Linked DNA regions of Homo sapiens: regions 2, 3 and 4 are each linked to region 1. The links are contacts of gene promoters, found by promoter capture Hi-C in blood cells and fetal thymus (Javierre and others, 2016). All regions are on one chromosome and are shown on one strand. The core of a region is centred on a gene start or on the middle of the fragment in contact, and the rest is flanking DNA. Distances in the headings are between cores, read along the strand shown. Region 1 holds the start of NAA16 (N-alpha-acetyltransferase 16, NatA auxiliary subunit). Region 2 overlaps VWA8 (von Willebrand factor A domain containing 8). Region 3 overlaps VWA8 (von Willebrand factor A domain containing 8). Region 4 has its middle 6.0 kb from the start of TRE-TTC1-2.

Region 1 (3,484 bases), core at 636-3,135:
GTTTGCCATGTTGCCCCGGCTGGTCTCCAACTCCTGAGCTCAGGGTGATCCGCCTGCCTCAGCCGCCCAAAGTGCTGGGATTACAGGCGTGAGTCACTGCACCTGGCTGTGCATGTGTCTTTACGGTAGAACAATTTATATTCTTTTGGGTATATACCCAGCAATGGGATTGCTGTGGACCCCCAATTTTAATGACAGTACTTTCCCTATTTTAAAGGACTCCTATGATGCTTTAAAATCATGTGTGAAACGTAGGAGATTGAAAGAAAAAAAAAGACTCCTATGATTCTTTCATGTCCAACCAACTTAGGCTAGAAAGAAGGAAAATCAAATAGGCAGGCACTGTGGCTCACACCTGTAATCCCAGCACTTTGGAAGGCCGAGGTGGGCAGATCACCTGAGGTCGGGAGTTTGAGACCAGCCTGACCAACATGGAGAAACCCCGTCTCTACTAAAAATACTAAATTAGCCAGGTGTGGTGGTGCATGCCTGTCATCCCTGCTACTTGGGAGGCTGAGGCAGGAGAATCGCTTGAACCTGGGAGGCGGAGGTTACAGGGAGCTGAGATAGCGCCATTGCATTCCAGCCTCGGCAACAAGAACAAAACATCGTCTCAAAAAAAGGAAAATAAAAAAGGGCAGCCCAGTTCTGATTACAGCCGACTAAATGCAGTTACTCATCAATTACTTTATAGTCTCAGAAATATGCACCCATTAAGATTCAGCACATGTATAAATAAACTTATGTACCTAATGTTTACACACACCTTACTACTAACCCTACACTGAATGTATGGTTTATTCTTGCCACTGTTGTATCTTTCTAGACTCACACATTACCATCAATATGCTGCCTTTTATTTGTTGTAGAGAGTATCCCAGAGTTGGAAGATCCTGAATTTGAAGCCTGTTTCTCCCATTATTATATGGCTTTCAGGAAGGGGAACCATCTGAAGAGAAAGGGTAGGTAGACTCAGAAGACCAGTGGCCTTATAAAACCGTAATTCCGGCCAGGTGTGGTGGCTCACGCCTGTAATCCCAGCACTTTCGGAGGTTGACGCGGGGGCGGATCACGAGGTCAAGAGATCAAGACCATCCTGGCCAACATGGTGAAAGCCTGTCTCTACTAAAAATACAAAATTAGCCGGGTGTGGTGGCGCATGCCTGTAATCCCAGCCACTCGGGAGGCTGAGGCAGGAGAATCCTTTGAACTCAGGAGGCGGAGGTTGCAGTGAGCCCAGATAGCGCCACTGCACTGCAGCCTGGGCGACAAGAGCGATACTCCATCTCAAAACCAACCAACCAAACAAAAACAAAGATTGTAAATGTTTGTTTGGTTTGCCCTGGAAAGAGAAGGCTTCTACTTAGAGTCTGAATCAAGGAGGAAAAGGAAAGAAAACAAGTTCATCTTTCATCAAAAGTCTACTTTGCATCGGACACTTAAATTCCTAAATGGGGAGAAATGCAAAAAACTCTGACTCTTCAGAGTCATAACTAACATTATCTTGCGCCACAAGCTTATCAAGAGTGCAATACAAGTCAGTGTCTTCTCTTTTCTACTTAAAAGAAAATTCTCGTTTTTATTTATTACTTTATTGCAAGGAGAAGCAGACAATAAGTAGGAGTCTTATGAGGCGTTCTGATGCATAGGAGCAATGGTGAATGAGGGTGGTGACTCACCACCCCATGGGACTCCAAGGTTTTGGTGACAGCTCGCCTGAGCCCCAGGGGGTGCCGAGATTGCGGCGAGGAGAGCCGCAGCACAAGGCAAATCCACGCGGTTGGTCCCCGCTACGCCCCCGTAGTCACCCGCAGCCCCTCGCCAAAGGGCGCTCCGCGCATGCGCACAGGATCCGGCTCGGGAGGCGGACCCTGGCTGCCATCTTGCAGTGCGCGGGAACCGCCGCCGCCGCCGCTGGCCAAAAAGCGGAGCCCAGGGGAAGCGTGTCCTGCTCAGACCGCCTTCCTTCTCCATTGCCACCCGTGCCGAACAGCCAGGCTGCCCAATTGCAACTGTAGACCAATGAACTAATCCATCGCCCGCAGCCCGACTCTCAGCAGCGGTTCGTCCCGGTGCCCACCCCCGCGAAGCGGAGCGCCCGGGCACCTAGCCTCCCTGCCGGCCACCTAGCCTCCCTGCCGGCCACGATGCCGAACGTGCTGCTGCCGCCCAAGGAGAGCAACCTCTTCAAACGCATCTTGGTGAGTGGCCGTAGGCCGCGCTGCCGCCCCCCGGTCCCCGGGTCCTCGGGCCTTAAGGGCAAGCGGTCTGGCGGCGGCCGGCGCGGGCCAGGCTTGGCCTCCGCTGCCCACCGCTCTTTGTTTACCTCGGAGGTCGCGGGACCCCACTTTCCCGCTCCGGCCGGCCCACGGGGGCTGCCGAGCCGCTCCTCCGTGCGCTTCCTTTCCGCGGTCTTCTGCGGCTCGCCTCACCCCCGCCGCGCTCTTTCCAGAAACTTCACGCCGCTCTCCGCAGTGCCCGGGCACAGCCGCCTCGGCCGGTAGTGGCTGCCGTGCTCTCTGCCGCGCCGGGCTCGCAGCAGCCCCTCAGGGATCCTCCCCCGGTGGTTTATTTTGCCAGTCTCTCCTCGGCTAGGTGTTTTGCGTTCTGCATTCTCTGCTTTGCGTTTAGTTAGATTGCACAGCACACCCGCATACCTATTAAAGCGGGATCGATGCGATGGTGGAATTTTTCCTGGTTACGAGGAAATAAAACCGGCAACTTTAGGAAGCCAGGCCTGGCACCACCTCCCTTTGGGAAAAAGTTTGCCTGTTTGTAATGTACCTTATTTACCTCTTTGGAAGTGAATATTTGACTTGAAGTGCGTTTCTGAGTTGTCACCAACTTCAAAACAGCTGTTTGCTTTTTAGTCGCACAGGCCTTGCTTGAGTAATTAAAGCCGCGTGGACTGGCTGGTTTTGCATTTGAGGGGAGCATTTTTACTTTATCGCGGAGCAGAAGCCTGAATAATGGCCCCGTAGTGATGACCGCTGCGGAGCCGGGTGGGCAGTTTTCTGTGGGCTGTGTGCCAGCGTCCCTGGTAGCTTTCCAGGTTCTGTTCTTCCAAGGAGAAGAGGCAGCATTCCTTTGCTTTCCTCAGTATCCTCTGGCTACCCTAGGTTTTAAACTAATATTGTTAGTAGGTAACTGTCTTTTCTAGTTTATCTTTTCACCTGAAAAAAAGCTTTTATTTGCTAAACATGCATTTAGGTTTAAAGGTGAATTTATTGAAAGCTGGGTTGGCTATATGGCTGTTAGTTGTTGCTTAACTTTACTATAAATAAAATACTAATTTTAGAGTAATTTTAAGTATGAACAGCGGCAGATAATTCATAGTAGCTGTTCTGTTTCAAGACGATAGAAACTTCACACTTAGTCTTCAGATTAGGATACATAGTAGATGGGATAAAAATTTTAAATATTATGTGGTGCTTAGTTTTGAACCAATAATAAGATACAAATGTGAGAACATTAAAAATACGAA
Region 2 (3,484 bases), core at 488-2,987, 350 kb after region 1:
CTATTTACCTCCATATTTCTAAGTAATATTCTTATGTCTCCTTATTTTTCAATTTCAGACATTGTCTATTGACTTCCTATTATGAAAGGTAAGGATTATTTTTCCTCTCCCACCTCAAACACACATCACTCATTTTTTTCTCCCCTCATTCCCCCTAATAAAGTGCTATCATAAACAAATCAATATTGTTTACCTTATCATTACTATACAGTCCCCGACTTACGATGATTCAATTTAACAATTTTTCTACATCGTGGTTCAATTTAACAATTTTTCTACTTTACGATGTAGAAAAATTGTTAAATTGAACCGTCGTTAAGTCGGGGACTGTCTGTATAGTAATGATAATAAAGTGCTGAATAGCTCATGTAACTTACTGAATATATTATGTCACAGTCTAGACATAATGTATTCAGTAAGTTACATGAGGTATTCAGCACTTTATTATCAAATAGGCTTTTATGTTAGATAATTTTGCCCAACTGGGAATTACCTTTGCCACTCTTTCCACCTATGTCTTCCTCTTTCTTGGTTTACTCCCTTTTTTTAGCGACAGCACATCATGCAGTAGCTTCTTGAGAAATAATGTAATGTTTTTGAGATTTGCACATTTAATAATGGTTTTAGTCTACTTGATTAATAGCTTGGCTGGATATAAATTCTAGCCGGAAATCCTTTTCCCTCTTTGATTTTCTCTTTAGTTTCCAATGCTGCTTTGGAGAAACCCAGTGCCATTAGGATTTCTACCACTTTTATATGACCTGTTCCCTACTTCTCTCAAAATTAGAAGTTATCGGCTTTATTTCTTTATCCATGGGGTTCTAAAATTTCAAGTGGACATGCTTTGATGTGTGTGTGTGTGTGTGTGTGTGTGTGTGTGTGTGTGTGTTCCATTTGTTATACTGTATATCTGGTTCTTTAGTTCAGTGAAATTCTTAAATATAGATGCTACTACCTTCCTTGAGTCTAAGTAAAAAAAGCAGACTTTCACTTTATCTTCTTGTTGTATGGTTTCCCTCCTGTCCTAATTGGTGCCTTTTGTAAGGGCAGAGGAGAGCCAGCTGCCTAGAAGCATAGGATAGAGGAGAAAATCTGGATGTCTCAACGGCCTGGACAGACTTTCGACTAATCTTCCAAATTTCAGTGCCACCCCACATTACAACCTTCAGAACTACACAGTATCTTCAAGTCCTGTTGCTAACAAAAGCTTAAAATAGGAGGAGGAAAAAGCTATGAAAAGCTTAGAAAGACAGGATTCCAATTTGCCCTGTGTTTTTGTTGCTGTTGTTGTTGTTTTCCTGTTTTCTACTGTTCTCAGGACTCAGAGTAAATGATGTATACTTTGCTGCATGTTTTTTGGTCTTGTTCTAATTTGTCTTTTAAATAAGGCTAAACACTATAATCCTCTGCTGACAATTGTCCTATCATTGATTTCCTGCTTTTCTTCAAGCTGACAGGTTTAGGCAAAGACCATTTTTACAATTCCTTTTTTGGATCTGACAAAATTTTTTCCAAACAGGATTATAAACAAAGCTTACATTTTAACACTAGTATAGATGATGAATTATGTAACTCATTGGATCATAAGTTAATATTAGGTATTTGAGTAATACTGTTTCATTTAAATTTGGCTTTGTCTCCATAAAGCATTGAAGAATTCCGTAGCCCAATATTAACTTAAATTCTAAGTTTCTATTTTTTATTGTTTACTGAGTACTTACTCTGTACCAGGCATTACTGTATTTCATTCTTACAACTTTGTTAAGGTTCAATTATTTTTATATTATGATTAGAAAGTGAGGCTTTGAAAGAATAAGTAATTTGCCAGAGATCACCTACAAAGTTGAACCAGGATTTTAATCTAGGTTTGAACACTATAAATTTCATGCTCTTAAATAATAAGTTGTACTGCTTATGAATAAAATCATAAATATAATAGCAAGAAGCTTTTATTTCTATAGCCATTGTGATTGTAAGGTATACATTTACATTTAAGTAAGTACTTAATGTAAGTAATTAAGTACATTAAGTAAGTACTTAATGTAAGTACTTAAATGTAAGTGTATACCTAACGAGCTCAGAACCGTAACAGTTCTAGAGTCATTGACTGTCAACCTATTAATTGCATTTCACATTCAGGTTTATAGCCAGTATATTGCAGAATTAATTTGTTTTCTTTATACTTTAATATTGTTAAAATTACCTCTTTACTTGCTGATCATATTGTTGAACAATATGCACTAGTGATATGGTAACACAATTATCCTACGGCCTGTCTTGAGAGGAGATTGAAATAGTCCTGCTGATGATTTGAAAAGGAATTTTTTGAGGTTAGACCTTTTCTAAAGAGTGAAAGTAAGATAATATTTCTATTTTAAATATTAGTTTAACATTCTATAATTTTCATAATTTATAGGGGTATCATTCTTATTGGATATGCATAAAAAGTTAATGAAACCTCACAGCCTCCCTAAAATCATAAACTTGTTTATTTGCTTGCCTTAGGGAGGTGACTGCTGATTTAATTTTAATTGTATTTAGCAATTACTGATAATGTTGTGATCCAATGGAAGCTTTTCTTTTAGAGGAATGTAAAAATCAACTTGCAATTTCTCTCTGAAACACAATCTATATAAGAAAGGAGGCCCATATGCATGAACCCAGGAGTGCTATCTTACTTCAGGGCAGATTTTTCTTCAATTCTTTACTCAAACCAAATTTCTGGTTCAAGAAGAGTATGGCCAATTGGTTACTGGGATAACTGCAGGCTTCCACATTTCCTGAGCTAACATGATACTATCTTATCTGTGTTCTCTGTACCTTTCTCCCTTTTCTCTCATTGCTTCTGTCCCTATCACCATCTTACTGCCTCATTTCTGAAAGCCTTGCTGTTAGGTAACTGCCATAATTCTCTTTGGGGAGTTAGATGATAAAGCCATAAATAAGCAAGTGGCATGATAGAGCTAAACTATATCAGCCTATGAGAGATAACTGCTAAATACTTAGGAATTTTTCAAGCTGATTGTTAACCTTTGGTAGCTTGAAATCATGGTGGGGGTGTTTGCAAAATGGAAACTGGCAAACTTAACAACCCCCCAGTCTCCATGAGAACTAGTTTACTAGCACGCCACCGGGATCTTGCATTTTCACTCAGTACTCCTGAAAATCTTAAAGATTCAAAATGAATTTTCATGGCTGGGACTTCTCTAATAGGAATAAACAATAAAAAAATAATTACAGGCAATGCCCAAGTGTTACCATATAGGGAAACAGCTGGATCATCTTGCTGAAACCCAGCTCTACTGACACGTGGCGAGGAGACATGGATGGTGAGAAATTATAAAAGTTCAGAAAAGCATTGCCTTTCTGGGCCAAGAAAGATTCCCAAAGACACATGTACATATAACAATCCTACAAAATATGGATTGTTCTGTAACAATGATCCACTGAATCAGACTATTTTTTCAGAGTTATTGATCAAAGT
Region 3 (3,484 bases), core at 550-3,049, 330 kb after region 1:
AGGGAGCTAACGTTGTTTGCATATGTTAGTCTTGGGTGAGTTAATACAGCCACAGAGCTTAATGAACGCCAGTGTAGTTGCTTGGTATGTCCCTTATGGGGCAGCTGCCTAGGGCTGTACAGGGTAGGTCTCAGCTGAGGCAGTGTGAGTGGAGCTGAAAGTCACACAATGCTCACATCACCAACACCAGGCTCTAAAGAAGGTAGCCAAAAGAAAGCAGCTCTTTCTGTTTTCTAACCGGTTTGCCCAGAGAGGTCCCACTTTGCAATCCATCCTCTCGGTGGGAGAGCCTTTTTCTAATTTCATACAGTAGCTCATTTGTGTTGGAAGAGGCCCTAGCAGGGCTAACATTACCACAAGGAAACATAGTAAGTGAGTTTTTGGCAAGTGTATCTCTTAAGGAGCAAGCATCTGTGAAGGAGTGAATCTATTATCTCCTTTTTTCTTATTATAGGTAAAACCCAGTATCTTTCTCCTGTTAAGTTCATACAGACAGACTTCATTGAAATTTAAGGGCAACAATTTTAGCATGGTAGCTGACTACCCAGATTTTTTTTTAATTGTGCCATTATATTAAAGCAATTTTTCCCAGGGAAGCAAGGTGAACCCTCTTAGCTTGGAAGAACCCTTGGCTCTTTCAGAGGCTTTCCTCTTACGAGCCTCTAATCTACCTGTGAGACCTAGGCATCTTGTACCACCCCCGCCAAAAAAAAAAACCAGAGTGTAGAGAGGTAGTTTGCCTTGCCCATATGCACTTCTCTAGGATAATTAAATATATATTTTGTCTAGTCTTAGCAGATACATGTAGAGCAGGTCCTTGAATAACATTTTGTTCAAGGACATTTCATTATAAAGTCAATGAGAAAAAACACAGATTCCCGGCCAGGGCCACTGTCTGTGTGGGGTCTGCACGTTTTCCCCATGCCTGTGTGTGTTTTCTCTAGCTACTCTGGTTTCCTCCCACATCCCAAAGCTGTGCACTTTAGGTTAACTGGTGTGTCTACATGGTCCCAGTGTGAGTGAGTGCAGGTGTGTTAGTGTGCCCCACGAGGCGGGGGATGGCCTCCTGTGCAAGGTGGGTTCCCCTGAGCCACCAGGATAGGCTCTGGCTAACTGCAGCCCTGAACTGGAGTAATTTGGTAAACAGTTATCTTACTTGTTTTCATTAATCTTTCTTAAATGTATATATAGCTTACACTGATTTCAGTGTTTACTATAAGGAGTGTTTTGGGTCTCTATTTAGAAGTTAGGTGATGTTTTTGTAACCAGAAATATGCTGTAGGAACTTAACTCTTGTTTATCCCAATTAGCCTATGGTAAAACTGGTTTCATTATTTATTGTTTCATTTAAAGTTTCCAAGAATAGTATAGTTTCCAAGAACCTGTTGACTATGTTAAGTGAGGACTCACTGTATTACTGCTACTCAAAAATTTCCTCTAAACATGGTTAAAAGCACAGACATTGGAACCAGTTTCCTTGAATTCAAACTCTGTCTTTGACACTTATTAACCGTGTAAGGCACTTCATCTGTAAAACAAGGATAGTAATGGCACCTACCTCATAGGGTCATTGTGGGGGTTAAAAATGTTAAATTCACATTATTACTTAAGATAGTGCCTGGCCATACTAAATGCAATATGCATTATCTATCATTACTATTATTTTAGGAGAGTGAAAAAGGTACTGCTTAGTACAAAACATTCATTTTTCAGTAGAGATATGCCAGGTATGTATCATGTTAATATTAGCATTGGGAAAAAATAACTCCGGATTTTCATCAAGGATATTTTCTGAAGTTTGGGTTGTATGAGAATTCTACACTCTGTCCAATTCTTATAATAACACTCATGATCTGCTGTTCATTCATGACCTCACTCAGGAAGTTCAGTTTTGCTACAAATATTACAAATACCAAACTGATGTTTCCTAACTCACTCAGTGTTCTGCCCAGATTGCGGCAGGCCCCTTTTTATGGCTCTGGCAGCTGATATTAGGACTTGATTACTTCTGAACTCCTGAAAACATGTTTGCTGTCAGTTGCAAAAGAGGTGGCATGAGAGCGACTCAAAACATTTCCAGTATCATGACTGTTCCATGAAAGACTTGAGAGAAATGGATACCTTAAAAAAACGAGAATAAATGTGCTGAAGTGCCAAGGAAAAGGCAGTTCTCTCTCTACTAGCTCCAATTTAGGATTTGCACTTCAATCTATACTTGCTCACTTGTGAAATTAAAAATCTTTTTTTTTAAATCACATAATATCAGATGTGACTTCTTCACTTACTTTTATTTTTCTAAGTGCATCTGAAAGAAGAAAGGTATTTCCAGGAGGGCAAAGAAGAGAATGTATATGATTTTTCTTCTCACTTAAGATTCTTATCAAATTTTCCTGATTTTTTTTTTTTTTTTTTGAGACGGAGTTTTGCTCTTGTTGCCCAGGCTGGAGTGCAATGGCACAATCTAGGCTTACCACAACCTCCACCTCCTGGGTTCAAGCGATTCTTCTGCCTCGGCCTCCCGAGTAGCTGGGATTGCAGGCATGTGCCACCACGCCCAGCTAATTTTGTATTTTTAGTAGAGAAGGGGTTTCCCCATGTTGGTCAGGCTGGTCTAGAACTCCTGACCTCAAGTGAACTGCCCACTTCTGCCTACCAAAGTGCTGGGATTACAGGTGTGAGCCACCACGCCCGGCCAAATTTTCCTGATTTTTATGTGTAGGGTTGAACAATGGAACCTAATCTGAATCATTAATTCATTCATGGATTCATTCAGTGAGTAATGATGATGAGTGACGACCACGTGCCGGTGCCCTGATGTTTACAGTCTAGGCATTTTAAATATACTACTTCTGATATTCATAATTCTCCATATTAGGTATTATTTCTACTTTGCAGGACAGGAAACTAAGGCTTAGAGATGTATAGCAACATACTCATTATCACATAGTTATTAATTGGAGGAGCCAGGATTGAAATCTCAGTCCATCTCCTTCTAAAACCCAGGTTTATCAGATTTTTTTTTTACTACATTACACTGGCTATAAACAATGAATGTATTCTTGATAGTACAAAATTCAATGTTTTATAAAGCATATCATGGTTTAGGAAAGCAAGAAATATGCCTGAAAGGCAAGCATTTTTCCTTTTTAATATATATCAGATTTATAGAAAGCACTGTATACATCAGTAAATAAGACATTAGATTAAAGGGCTAGCATATCTTTCAGAAGGTTAGTAAAATACTGTATTTATGTATGGTCTGAACTGCATCATACCAGACAATCCTGAACATGATCTGCAGACTCAATGCTTGCCCTAGTGGCTCACGTCTGAAAATGTCACTTACTGGCCACAGGACATTGGGTGTACTATGTAATCTGTTTGAAAATCTGTTTCTTCATCTATAAAATGGGACTATCATCATTCTATCACATAGGAAGCTACAAAGAGAAAATGGAGAGATACATGTAGAATACTTAACAGT
Region 4 (3,484 bases), core at 510-3,009, 260 kb before region 1:
TGTAATCTCAGCACTTTGGGAGGCTGAGGCAGGAGGATCACTTGAGGTCAAGAGTTCCAGACCAGCCTGGCCAATACAGTGAAATTCCATCTCTACTAAAAATACAAAAATTAGCCGGGTATGGTGGTGCACGCCTGGAATCCCAGCTACTCATGAGGCTGAGGCATGAGAATTGCTTGAACCCGGGAGGCAGAGCTTGTAGTGAGCCGAGATCATGCTACTGCACTCCAGCCTGGGTGACAGACTGAGACTCCGTCTCAAAAAAAAAAAAAATTAAGATCATTAACATTATATTTGACCATTAGTACATTACCAAAACGTAAGGTCCTTATGGTAAAGTACCAGGTCTCTATGGTGAAGTATCAGTGGCAAGGGGGTCAATCAATGATTCATCCATTCTCCTCAGTGTGGATATCACCTTCTTAAATAAGGCACAATTGCTGACCCCAGATGGCTGCTTCAACCCACTTCTGCTTTACTGGTGACACAAATTTCAAGCCCTAAATGGCTACCCCACCCCTTCTGACACCTCTGGGAATTCAAGTGTGTAAGATATTTATAACATTATTGGCTGTAAACAGCTCATCTCTTAGGAAAGTTTTATTTGGTCGTGAGTCCAAAACTGAAACATTTCCTGAGTTGCAGTGAGCAAATAAGTATTTCACAATCACCATTTTATTTTGATTCAAGCTAGTTTATGAAACTACCAAACTAGTATAATTTGTGAGCAGAGTGTCCTTCTAAATAAGTAGCGTAATATAAACCAAACTCATTTGTATAAATACAATTAAGGCAATCCATCCAAAACGTAGAGAACTTTTAACAACTACAACCAAATCCACAAAAAAACGAGGCAAGAAGGCCACTTTCACTTAGCCAAAAAAGGGTGTGGGGGGATGTTTGATATATTTCTCAAAAAATATAACTCTCAAGGATAATACCATATGTCTTATAAAATGGGATGAAAAAAATCAGTACAACAAAAGGGATAAATGACCATTTCACAACAGGCCTACATGCCACAATATTTTAAAAAACCAACCCTTCCATATGAAATTTCTAGAGCAAAGAAGTACCATCTAAAAACCACTCTTGAATCATTGCAGCTTTTTAAAACTACTGGTTCCATTTTAGATTCCCTTTATTTAAAAGCCTCAGAAAAAATTCAGAGAAAAAATTAATTTCAAGCTTTCTATTTAATGAGCATCACTGCATGCACCAACGTGGAAGAACCAAAGCCAGTTCTAAAACAGTAAATCGCAAATGAATGAAACTTTAATTCTTGATGGTTTTAGTCCTGATATTTTGTCCACAGGGTGGCAGTCTCACAGTATTAACTTGTTCATGGAGTCAATGCACAATTTCAGAGTTCGAAAGCCACAGACACACGCAGGTATGCAATAAATTTACTAGCTGGCCAACCCTAAGAGTAAAAACTGCCAGTCCGCTGCAATAAAATCTGTGCTTCATAACTTCTCTATTTCTTTTAGAAATATTTACTTTCTGAAGTCGTAGATTTTTTCCTTCAGTGTTATCTGTTGTATCTGATCCTTTCTATTCTGCTGCCACCACCCTATTTAGGGAGAGAGTAGAAGCAAGGAGAGATGTTAGGAGATTATTATTGGACTGCGGGAAGTCCTTGACCTTTGTCAAGGCCTAATGGAGTGGGAACAGGAAAGGGACAGTGGAGATGGGGAGCACAGACATAATCCTTCCATCCACCAGTTCAACCTGCACGTTACTACCAAATTCATTTCATTAAAACATTCCTCGTATTACCAGAAATCTCTTTTCCTAACTAAACTCCTTAGCTCCAAATCCAAGAGGCTTCCAAAATCTCCTTGTCAAGGGGCTTCGTAAAATAAACTTTGCTTTGCTTTAAATAGACCTTGCTTGCCACTTCTTGATTTTCATTCATTCATTCAAATGTTTTCTGAATGTTTACCAGGTGCCAAGCCCTGCTTCAAGTCTGATGATACAGAGGGAAACAAGTCAAAGCCCCTGCTCCAAAGTTACACTCCTGACAGTGGTCTGTGAGCGGGAGGAGGATATGTCCCCAGACACTTCCAGCTCTCTGCAGGTAAGAGGTATCGTTCTTCCTAAGTATGAGCCATTGGAGGCACACTAGGCATCAGGAGGATAGTAAAAACACATTGTCCACTACAGACCCTAATCTATTTTCGCAGCCTTATTTCCCATTCCTATCCTACCTGCACCCTCAGCTCCATTAAAATGTGCTAGTAACTGTTGACATGCCTCTGCTCCTGCTTGCTTCCTCTCAATGCCTTGTCCCCATCCCTGTCTCTACCAGCAAAAGCCTAACCAGCCTTCAAAGCTTATCTCGAATGCTGCCTCCTACAGGAGGCCTTTCCTCATTCCCCTCACACAAACTCAGATATGGATTTTGAACACTATCAAACACTTATGACCCCTGGCTTAGTCCCCTCTGAGCATTTATCAAACTATGTATTGTATCATAATTATCTGTATACTTACCTAACCTCCTCCATCAGTTATTTAATAAGCACTTACCACATTTGTGGAACTAACTAGGAGCTGAAGTTTCCCCATTAAATTATTCCATTATTATTTTAATTTTTATTTTCTAGAGAGAGGGTCTCACCCTGTTGCCCAGGCTGGAGTTCAGTGGTGCGATCATAGCTCACTGCAGCCTCAACCCCCCAGGTTCAAGCAATCCTACCACCTCAGCCTCCTGAGGAGCTGGGACTACAGGAACGCACCACCACACCAGCTAATTTTTGTTTTTTTTTTTCTTTGGTAGAGATGAAGTTTCACCATGTTGCCCAGGCTGCTATTATTTTAAAACAGGTAATATCCAAATGATAAATGTAAAATCAAGAGAGAAAATATTCTATATGCTTTTTATTGCTTCAATCCCTTTTAAGAGTTTAGTCGAGATAAAACTTACATATCATGAAGTTTATCTATTTAAAGTGTACACTTCAACATTATTTAGTGCATTTATAGAGTTATAGAACTATCACTGTAATCTATTTCAGGACTTTCAATCACCCTAAATTTACTATCCACATTGGCAGTCACCTCACCCCAAACCTCCCTATCCCCTCTAATCCAAGGCAACCACTAATTTTCCCTCTTTCTCTATAGATTTGCCTATTTTGGATATTTCATATAAATGGAATAAAAATGTGGTCTTTCATGCCTGACTCCTTAGTGTAATGTTCTTGTGATTGAGTACCTCATCCCTTTTTATTCCCAAATATTCCACTGTGTGGATACACTACATTTTACCTATTCACTCATCAGTTGAGGGACATTCAGGTTGTTTCTACTTTTTGCTTATGAATAATGCTGCTATAAACATTTGTATACAAGGTTTGGTGTGGGCATGTTTTCATTTCTACTGGGTACACACCTAGGAGTGGAAATACTGGATCATATGGTAACTGTTTAACATTTTGAGGAACTGCCAAACTGTTTTCCAAAGCAACTGCACCATTAT

Evidence for each region. Contacts are between HindIII fragments. The CHiCAGO score rates a contact against its expected background, and 5 or more counts as called.
Region 2: a fragment that was not itself captured here is called in contact with the fragment with the promoter of NAA16 in region 1 in 1 of 17 cell types (non-activated CD4 T cells); the score reaches 5.1 in non-activated CD4 T cells.
Region 3: a fragment that was not itself captured here is called in contact with the fragment with the promoter of NAA16 in region 1 in 1 of 17 cell types (M1 macrophages); the score reaches 5.0 in M1 macrophages.
Region 4: a fragment that was not itself captured here is called in contact with the fragment with the promoter of NAA16 in region 1 in 1 of 17 cell types (fetal thymus); the score reaches 5.0 in fetal thymus.

Annotation. Positions count from the first base shown.
Region 1 is chr13:41,309,382-41,312,865 of GRCh38, forward strand. NAA16 (N-alpha-acetyltransferase 16, NatA auxiliary subunit) reads left to right here and starts at 1,886. Exons shown (of 20, transcript NM_024561.5): 1 at 1,886-2,201. The coding sequence starts at 2,148. It also overlaps a transcript of MTRF1 not described here. The HindIII fragment of the contact is 1,668 bases long and covers 1,515-3,182 here.
Region 2 is chr13:41,663,542-41,667,025 of GRCh38, forward strand. All of the region lies in intron 37 of VWA8 (von Willebrand factor A domain containing 8), which reads right to left. Among named protein-coding and RNA genes, the nearest start is that of MIR5006, 97 kb to the left of the region's middle. The HindIII fragment of the contact is 413 bases long and covers 1,532-1,944 here.
Region 3 is chr13:41,643,572-41,647,055 of GRCh38, forward strand. All of the region lies in intron 37 of VWA8 (von Willebrand factor A domain containing 8), which reads right to left. Among named protein-coding and RNA genes, the nearest start is that of MIR5006, 77 kb to the left of the region's middle. The HindIII fragment of the contact is 3,759 bases long and covers 1-3,484 here.
Region 4 is chr13:41,053,095-41,056,578 of GRCh38, forward strand. It overlaps a transcript of ELF1 not described here. Among named protein-coding and RNA genes, the nearest start is that of TRE-TTC1-2, 6.0 kb to the right of the region's middle. RefSeq lists an enhancer at 545-594. The HindIII fragment of the contact is 1,147 bases long and covers 1,187-2,333 here.